Linked DNA regions of Homo sapiens: region 1 is linked to region 2. Evidence: promoter capture Hi-C in 16 types of primary human blood cells and fetal thymus (Javierre and others, 2016). All regions are on one chromosome and are shown on one strand. The core of a region is centred on a gene start or on the middle of the fragment in contact, and the rest is flanking DNA. Distances in the headings are between cores, read along the strand shown.

The links. The method cuts DNA at HindIII sites, captures the fragments that hold promoters and counts their contacts. A CHiCAGO score of 5 or more calls a contact.
Region 1: a contact is called between a fragment that was not itself captured here and the fragment with the promoter of TCEAL8 in region 2, in 2 of 17 cell types (megakaryocytes and naive CD4 T cells). The highest score is 7.2, in megakaryocytes.

The regions. Positions count from the first base shown.
Region 1 is chrX:103,494,881-103,498,686 of GRCh38, reverse strand. The region is part of intron 5 of LL0XNC01-250H12.3 (a long non-coding RNA gene); the gene reads right to left. It also overlaps a transcript of RAB40A not described here. Among named protein-coding and RNA genes, the nearest start is that of RAB40A, 23 kb to the left of the region's middle. The HindIII fragment of the contact is 981 bases long and covers 1,807-2,787 here.
Region 2 is chrX:103,253,028-103,256,843 of GRCh38, reverse strand. TCEAL8 (transcription elongation factor A like 8) reads left to right here and starts at 1,689. Exons shown (of 3, transcript NM_153333.3): 1 at 1,689-1,766; 2 at 2,167-2,239; 3 at 2,827-3,816. The coding sequence starts at 2,865. The coding sequence ends at 3,218. RefSeq lists an enhancer at 1,703-1,752. The HindIII fragment of the contact is 6,472 bases long and covers 1-3,587 here.

The DNA.
Region 1 (3,806 bases), core at 1,048-3,547, 240 kb before region 2:
CCCTTCCTGAACGCTGGTACTTTTCTATCTCATGAATTTCCCACAACATTCCTGGGAGGTAGAGGATATAATCTCTACACCATCCTGTAGCTTAAGAAACAGGGATGTTTGCAGGTTAAGCAACCTGGCTGGGGAGCATCCTGCCACTAAGTGGAAAAGCAGAGACTAGCATCCTATATGCCCCCAGGCAGACTGTGATGCTGAGCTGCACATCACAACATAACCAAGCAAATCTTGCTTTCCTGCTGACCTGGGTCACTACTGAAATCTGTATCTTCAGCTCTGAAGCCAGGCTGCCAGTTCTGTCTCTCTTATGAAAGACAGAGAACCTTGTCAGACCTAAATTTCCTACTCTGTAGACAAGGGAGTGTGTCTGGGCCATTGCTTTAGAAACGAGTCCGCAGACAGTTCCTGTATCAGGAAGAATATGCACTCTCAGAGGGACAGGGGCCATGCTGAGGGTGAATACTTGAAGGAGCAGGCCCCAAACACATGCAGATCGGGGATGCATAGAGTCTTTAATAGAAATTACCAAATCAACCTTGAAAGAGGTTGTACTAAATGACATCCCCACCACCAATATGAAACAGGGTAGGCTTCCCCGCATGCCCACCTTACTGGAATCCTGAATGGTTTCTTTTTATACTTTGATGATATGACAGGTGGAAATTCTTTCATTGTCATTATATTTAATTTGATGTTCAGATAACTTAAAAAATTCCCTAGTATACAAAATGCTCTGATAATCATCATTGCATTATATTTTTATTGCAAACTGGTCCATTTTCATATGTAGCCTAAAAACAATGAGCAACAGGCACATTAGCCTGCAAGTTCTCCTAGAGCTACTGGTGGCATTATGGTTCCAGGGTGTGTTTGTGGCCTCTGGGGAATACTGATGGCAGTGTGTTTGTCTAGAAGATTAAGAACATCTCTCTGTGATATTAGTTGAATTCAATATTAGAGAAGAGCTGGAGTCTTTTTAAGTGACACAAGAGCTGGACCACAACATGCTTCTGAGCAGGCTGTAATCCTGTCCCTGTGATGGACAGCAAGCCTTTCTGTGACCTCACCTGCTCAGGTCAGGGTGGATCCCTCCAGAACGTAAGGTATGGCAATTGGCCTAAATCTGCTTCTGAACACTGAAGCTGAGTGCTCCCATCTTCCTGCCGTCAGTTGCAGAGACTGGAGAAGCTGCATCTTCTCAGACACCAAAACCACGGGTTCAGTCACCTGTGTGAGGAGCTCAGTGCTGGAAGATAAAATACCAGCACCTGTTTGACACATCGTGCATCCATCCATCCATCTGTCCATCCATCCATCCATCCATCCATCCATCTATCCATCCCCATAGTTAACAGGCATTAAAGTCAAATGACACCATCCCTCTGGTTAAGTTTTAGACTTCCCCAGAATAGAAACAAGGAAGTAAGGGGGTTGTGGTAAACTCAGTTTCTAGACCTAAGAAGAGATGGCTCCTTCTCCTTAATATTTCCACCCTGAGAGAGCCTCTTATCATTGATAATTTTAAAACATAATTTAAAACCCTAGACCTCTCTCTACAACCCTAGTTACTGTTCTCTTTACATATATTCTCCCATTGCAACCAAAGTTCTATGAAGAATTCTCAATACTCAACTCACATCCCTTTGCACCTCCCTCCACCTCAGTCCTCATTCCTCATCTAATGGTGCTTTGTTCCCGCACCCCTCTGTTGAAATGAACCCCATCAAAACCAACAGCCACCCCTTTGTCCCATTTATAGATCAAGAGTGTTAAAATGAACATCTATATGGAGACAAAGCTTCCCCCGCAATGACAAAATTCAGTTGCTTTTGTATAGACAAAGATTATATTGCAATGCTATATTTACCTAAAAGCTAGCATTGTAAAATAGCTTCCATAAGAGTCAGTCAGATAACGTGAAGGCTGTGCTACAGGAACTGTGCTATCAGTTGAAGTACAACATTTCCCCAACATATCCCATACTATTGCTTCAATAAAAGGAATTTTGCAAATAGATTTACTGCATGTTAGCAATATTTTTATGATCACTTCAATAAATTCTGTTTATTGTTTTATTTCTTTCTGAAGGAATTACTAAGTATGCAATGTAATCGCCTGAAATTAAAATGTTGTTTCAAAATTTGTCGTGGTTAAATATATTGCCTAAAAGCATTGTCTGATTGTTTAATATGCCATAATTTGGTAATATAATGGTGGTGAAATATAATAGTAGATAGAGGGAACTCTTGCAGTCTCCTGATTAGGTCAGAATTCTTCTACTGCACCACACAAATCATAATTCTGGAATTCCTTTTGGAATGTTTCCATTTGGTAAACTATCACAACTATATGATAAGTGTACATGATTCCATACTGATATAAATTAAGTGTTTCCATTGACAAAGAAATGGGTCAGAGAAGACAAATTGTCTCAATCAAATAATTCTAAACAATATATGTGGCTAACCCTCAGTTCATGAGGTGAAGTTTAATTCTGTCCTCTACCTCCTAAGAACAGGGCTGACTTAGTGACTTACTTCTACAGAAAAGAGTATAGGAATGTAAAATAGTTACCACACACTGGAGAAATTTGGCAAACAGTACCTTAACCAAGTGATGAAGGTTAACATCACCATTGATATCATATGGGTAGCATGTAAACCCATATATGGTGTGATAAAAAGGGCAATTCATCTCTGCGGTATTCCTTCTGAAAACCCATAACCTCAGTCTAATAATGAGAAAAACAAGTTATGCCTGTACTTCTCATGAAATCAAGCTTATGAAAATAGTCTGGCCATACCTCAAATGGTTAACAGGGAGTTACCATATGACACAGCAATTCCACCCCTAGGTACATAGCCAAAAGAAATATGCCTACATAAAAACTTGTACCTGAATGTATACAGGATCATCATTCAAAATAGCCAAAGAGTGGAAACAACCCAAATGCTCATCAATTGATACATGGATAAAATGTGGTATATTCAGCAATAAATATGGATGAGGAACTGATATATGCTGCAACACAGATTTTGAAAACATTATGTAAAGTGAAAGAAGCCAGATGCAAAAGACCAAATATTGTTTGATTTCACTTATATAAAATGTCAAAAACAAGCAAATCCACAGAGAAACAAAGCATATCTGTGATTGCCTAGGGCTGGGGGTGGGCACAGGGATTAACTGCATTCAAGCAGGATGGGTAATCTTAGGGTGATGAAAATGTCTAAAACTCAACGATGAAGTCCCAGCTACAGCAATCAGACAAGAGAAAGAAATAAAGGGCATCCAAACTGGAAAAGAAGAAGTCAAATTATCCTTGTTTGCAGATGACATGATCTTATATTTGGAAAAACCTAGACTCCATCAAAAAACGATTAGAACTCATAAACAAATTCAGTATAGTTGCAAGATACAAAATCAACATACAAAAATCAGTAGTGTTTCTATATGCCAGCCAAGAGTGAACAATCTAAAAAATAAATTTAAAAGTAATCCCATTTACAATAGCCATAAATAAAATTAAATACACAGGAATTAACCAAAGAAGTGAAAGGCCTCTATAATGAAAGCTATAAAACACTGATGACAGAAATTGAAGATGACGCCAAAAAATGGAAAAGTATTTCATGTTCATTGATTGGAAGAATCAATATTGTTAAAATGTCCATTCTACTCAAAGCAATCTACAGATTTAATACAATCCCTATCAAAATACCAATGACATTCTCCACAGAAACAGAACAATCCTAAAATTCATATAGAATCACAAAAGACCCAGAATTCCCAAAGCTATC
Region 2 (3,816 bases), core at 440-2,939:
GCAGTGGTGGTTAAACAAATCTATACATTGGTTAAACTTCATAGAAGTGTACACACACACAAAGTCCATTTTGCTGCTGATGATTTTTCTTTTAAAAGATCAGAGTTGTTCCTCACTAAATGGTTACATTTAAAAGAGTGGAAACATTTGGTGATAGGCAATGATTAAATCTTTATAATTTGCTAGTTATATTTATATTAAAAGCTCTCTCTCAAACAATAGAACATTTATCCCTCAAGTGTGGAAGAAATTTGTCATGCTTCAACTATAAATCATTAAGTCCAAAAAATATTTATTTTTTCCAAACCTTCTTTTCTCTTCTCTGGTGGGTGTTCTTGTTGGCTAAGGCATCCTGCTGTGACCACCCTAGACAAAAGACCCCCTCTGTCTTCTTCTGACTCTCCAGCTGGCTCCATTGGCCAGAATGCCACTCCAGGCACCACCATCCTTCCAAGTACCAGTGGATTCTGAGTTGCAGGGATATCAGTTTCCTGTTTAATATTATTTTTTACAGCAATGTTGTTCTCTTTGCTTTCTAATCATAACAATTATGCATGTCAATAGTTCTTTTAATGGGACACAGTGGATGATACCAGACTATCTCAAGAGTGCCATGAATGAAAATGCCATGCAAAGAAGCCTCAAGCCTGATGGTGAGATACAGAGAATTCTCTTTTCTGAGTGTTTCATGAGTGTATGAGTTATTTCCCAACAACGAAATGTTTTCCAAGAAACATACTACTTTGAGTTCCAAAAGAATTTTACTCAGTGGAAAGCAGGCTTTTCTGTGGACTTATCTGATTAACAAGATACTGAATCCTATAGAGGAAATGGGGAGGAAGTCTGTCTGAAGCCTCCAAGTGAAACCTTAGTGGATGCCACCAGTGGTCATCAATGAAAAAGATCAGACATCCAACACTTGATAACTTGAGTTCTGCCAGAAATAGAAAGAGTAGTAGATTACCTATACAAAATTGCTAACAAGAGAAAACTAGGCCTCCTTCCACACATTAATTTGGGAGTCAATTTTTTAAGTGCTGTTTGGTAAGATTTTAAAAAATTCTAACACATCAATATGTTGTGAATATTGTCATTTCATTTCCAGCCATTAGAAAACTTTTCCAAAGTCTTACACATTGATATAACTAATTTGTCCTTCATATTAAGTGTTACATATTGCTTATGAGGCATCCGTTTTCTGATACCATTTTTAAAAGTATGCTGATTGCTGAAAACATAGAACACAACAGAAAACTATTCAAGAGGATTAGTCAAATCCTCCACTTTCAACCTTAGATTCTTTTCCAGCCCCCTCTTCCCGATCTACCACCTTTGCCCATTTCAATGCTGGATAGGATTCCAGGGGAAATGGTGGACTGTAGGGGTCTTGGAGGAGGGGAGGTGGGAGTATTGGGAGCAGAAGAAAGAGATGATTCCTCAAAGAAGGAGAAATGGTCGATTACCCCTAAAAGGCTGATCCTCCTGGTAATCTGAGAAAGGCGAATAAATACTCCAGGGCGAAGATAACAGTTTATTGTCTCCGATTGGCAAATACGAAAAAAGATTGACAGTATCAAGTGGAGGGAACGCAGCGGGCGGGCTGCAGTGTTAATGGGAGGGGTAACTGGGGACTCGAGCTCAGTGATGACGCGACTCTCACGTGACCAGGAGTCGACGTGTGCAGAAGTCCTTATAGTCCAGGGCCTGTTTCCCTGTAGCAGCTCCTTATTGCTGGAGAAGGAGAAAAGTGCCCAAGATCCTTTCAGGTTAGTATAAACGTGGGCGCTGACTTGGAGACCCTGGGGTCGAGGAGGCCGAGAGCAGAAAGCAAGCGGGGCCGGCACTGCTTTCCCCACTTCTGTTCCGCCAAACTCCCATTTTGTGCAGGAAATTTGGGGCTGTTTGGTGGGGGATGGCGGGTGGAGAGAGAGAAGGGTAGCTAATTAAGGGTCCTGAGAGAGAGACATAGAAACTGTTTGGAAGAAACTTGCTTTTCCTACTCCCTGCTTGCAGAAAAACGGTGGGCACGGAGGAGGGCGGGGTTGCCATAAAAGGAGGGCGAGGATGAGGACATGGGAAACTTTACACCAACATGGCCTAGAATCATGAAAGGGACCCGTGATCCAGGTACTAGTCTGCTCACCAAACACTCCCATCTGTCTGCAGGATATTTGGTTTTTTGGGCGCGACACAAATCGAGGTGAGGGAAGAGAGAGGAAAATCCCCTGAATCCCTGCAGGTCAGTTTTTGTAAAGGTGCAATTGCTTCAGGTCTCTTCGGGTGGGGGTGGAAGTGTGAGTGACACCAAAGCACATCCTGGGGTCGCAGCAGCCCCTCCCCATCCGGATTAAGTGCCAGAGGCCGGTGCCGAGCCTGCAGCGGAAATGAGGCGGGGGAGGAGGAGGCTTAAGAGACGCTGAAGGGGGAGGGGAGGCCAGAGACTGGACCAGCCGTCTCAGGTGAGAGGCTGGAGGTTGAGAGGGCCTGGGAAAGTCTGAAGGGCGGGAGTGTTGGAGACCAGAGGCGGGAGAAGGGTTAATTGCTTCCGTACTGCTCCCATTTCAGTATTAGGAGAGGCTTGTAGCAGGGCCTGCTGGGAAGATGGTGGGCAGGAGCAGGAGGAGAAAGATGGAGCTGGAACGAAAGGGGGCGCGAAGGGAGGTGGAGTCAGGGGAGTTCTGAGCCTGAGGATCCAGCTTTCTCTAGTTGGAAAACTTTTGACAATTAGGGTACTGAGTCAAAAAAGGCCAGTCGCTATGGGACCCCATACTCTGACTGCTGGTCTGTTTGCCTGGAATCTAGTAGTTTTGTTTCCTTGTTTTCTAGGATTAATTTATTCAAAAAGGAAATAAAAAATACTCAATATGCAAAAGTCTTGTGAAGAAAATGAGGGAAAACCACAGAACATGCCAAAGGCCGAGGAAGATCGCCCTTTGGAGGATGTACCACAGGAGGCAGAAGGAAATCCTCAACCTTCCGAAGAAGGCGTAAGCCAGGAAGCAGAAGGAAACCCCAGAGGAGGGCCGAATCAGCCTGGCCAGGGATTTAAAGAGGACACACCCGTTAGGCATTTGGACCCTGAAGAAATGATAAGAGGAGTAGATGAGCTTGAAAGGCTTAGGGAAGAGATAAGAAGAGTAAGAAACAAGTTTGTGATGATGCATTGGAAGCAAAGACATTCACGCAGCCGTCCTTATCCTGTGTGCTTTAGGCCTTGAATTCATTTTTGCCTAATATTAAAATCTGGCCCCAGCTTTCTTTCTGTTAGCATTTTCTGATGTATCTTTGACCTCCATTTTACTTTTAATCATCTGATGAAATTTTGTTTTAGGTAATTTCCTTGGTACCAGCATCTCATTGGATTTTGGATTTTGACCCATTTTCCAGGTCTATTTTTCAATTGGAAACTTTCACACATTTGCATGGGAATATGTTCATTCCATGTTGTAAAGTAAAACATAACAGGTTATGGCAAAGCAGCATATTTAATATCAGCTCACATATGTAGGATAAAATTCCAAACTTTGTGTGTGTGCGTGTGTGTATACATACATCCATATAACATATATCACAAACTTAACCAAGCTTATTTCTGTGTGGTGTGAAATTTTATTTGTTTTCTTCTTTTTGTTCTTTTTGCTTATATGTACTTTTTAATGAACACGTGTCTCACACACAAAAAGAATTAAGGATTTTTTTTACAAGTAAGAGTCAAATAATTTGCAACCAGCTTATGAGGGCAATGGGGGCACCTAAACTCTTGATGAAAGAACTTTAAAAAGAAATGTAAACCTCAAATTACCTCTGGATCTCTTA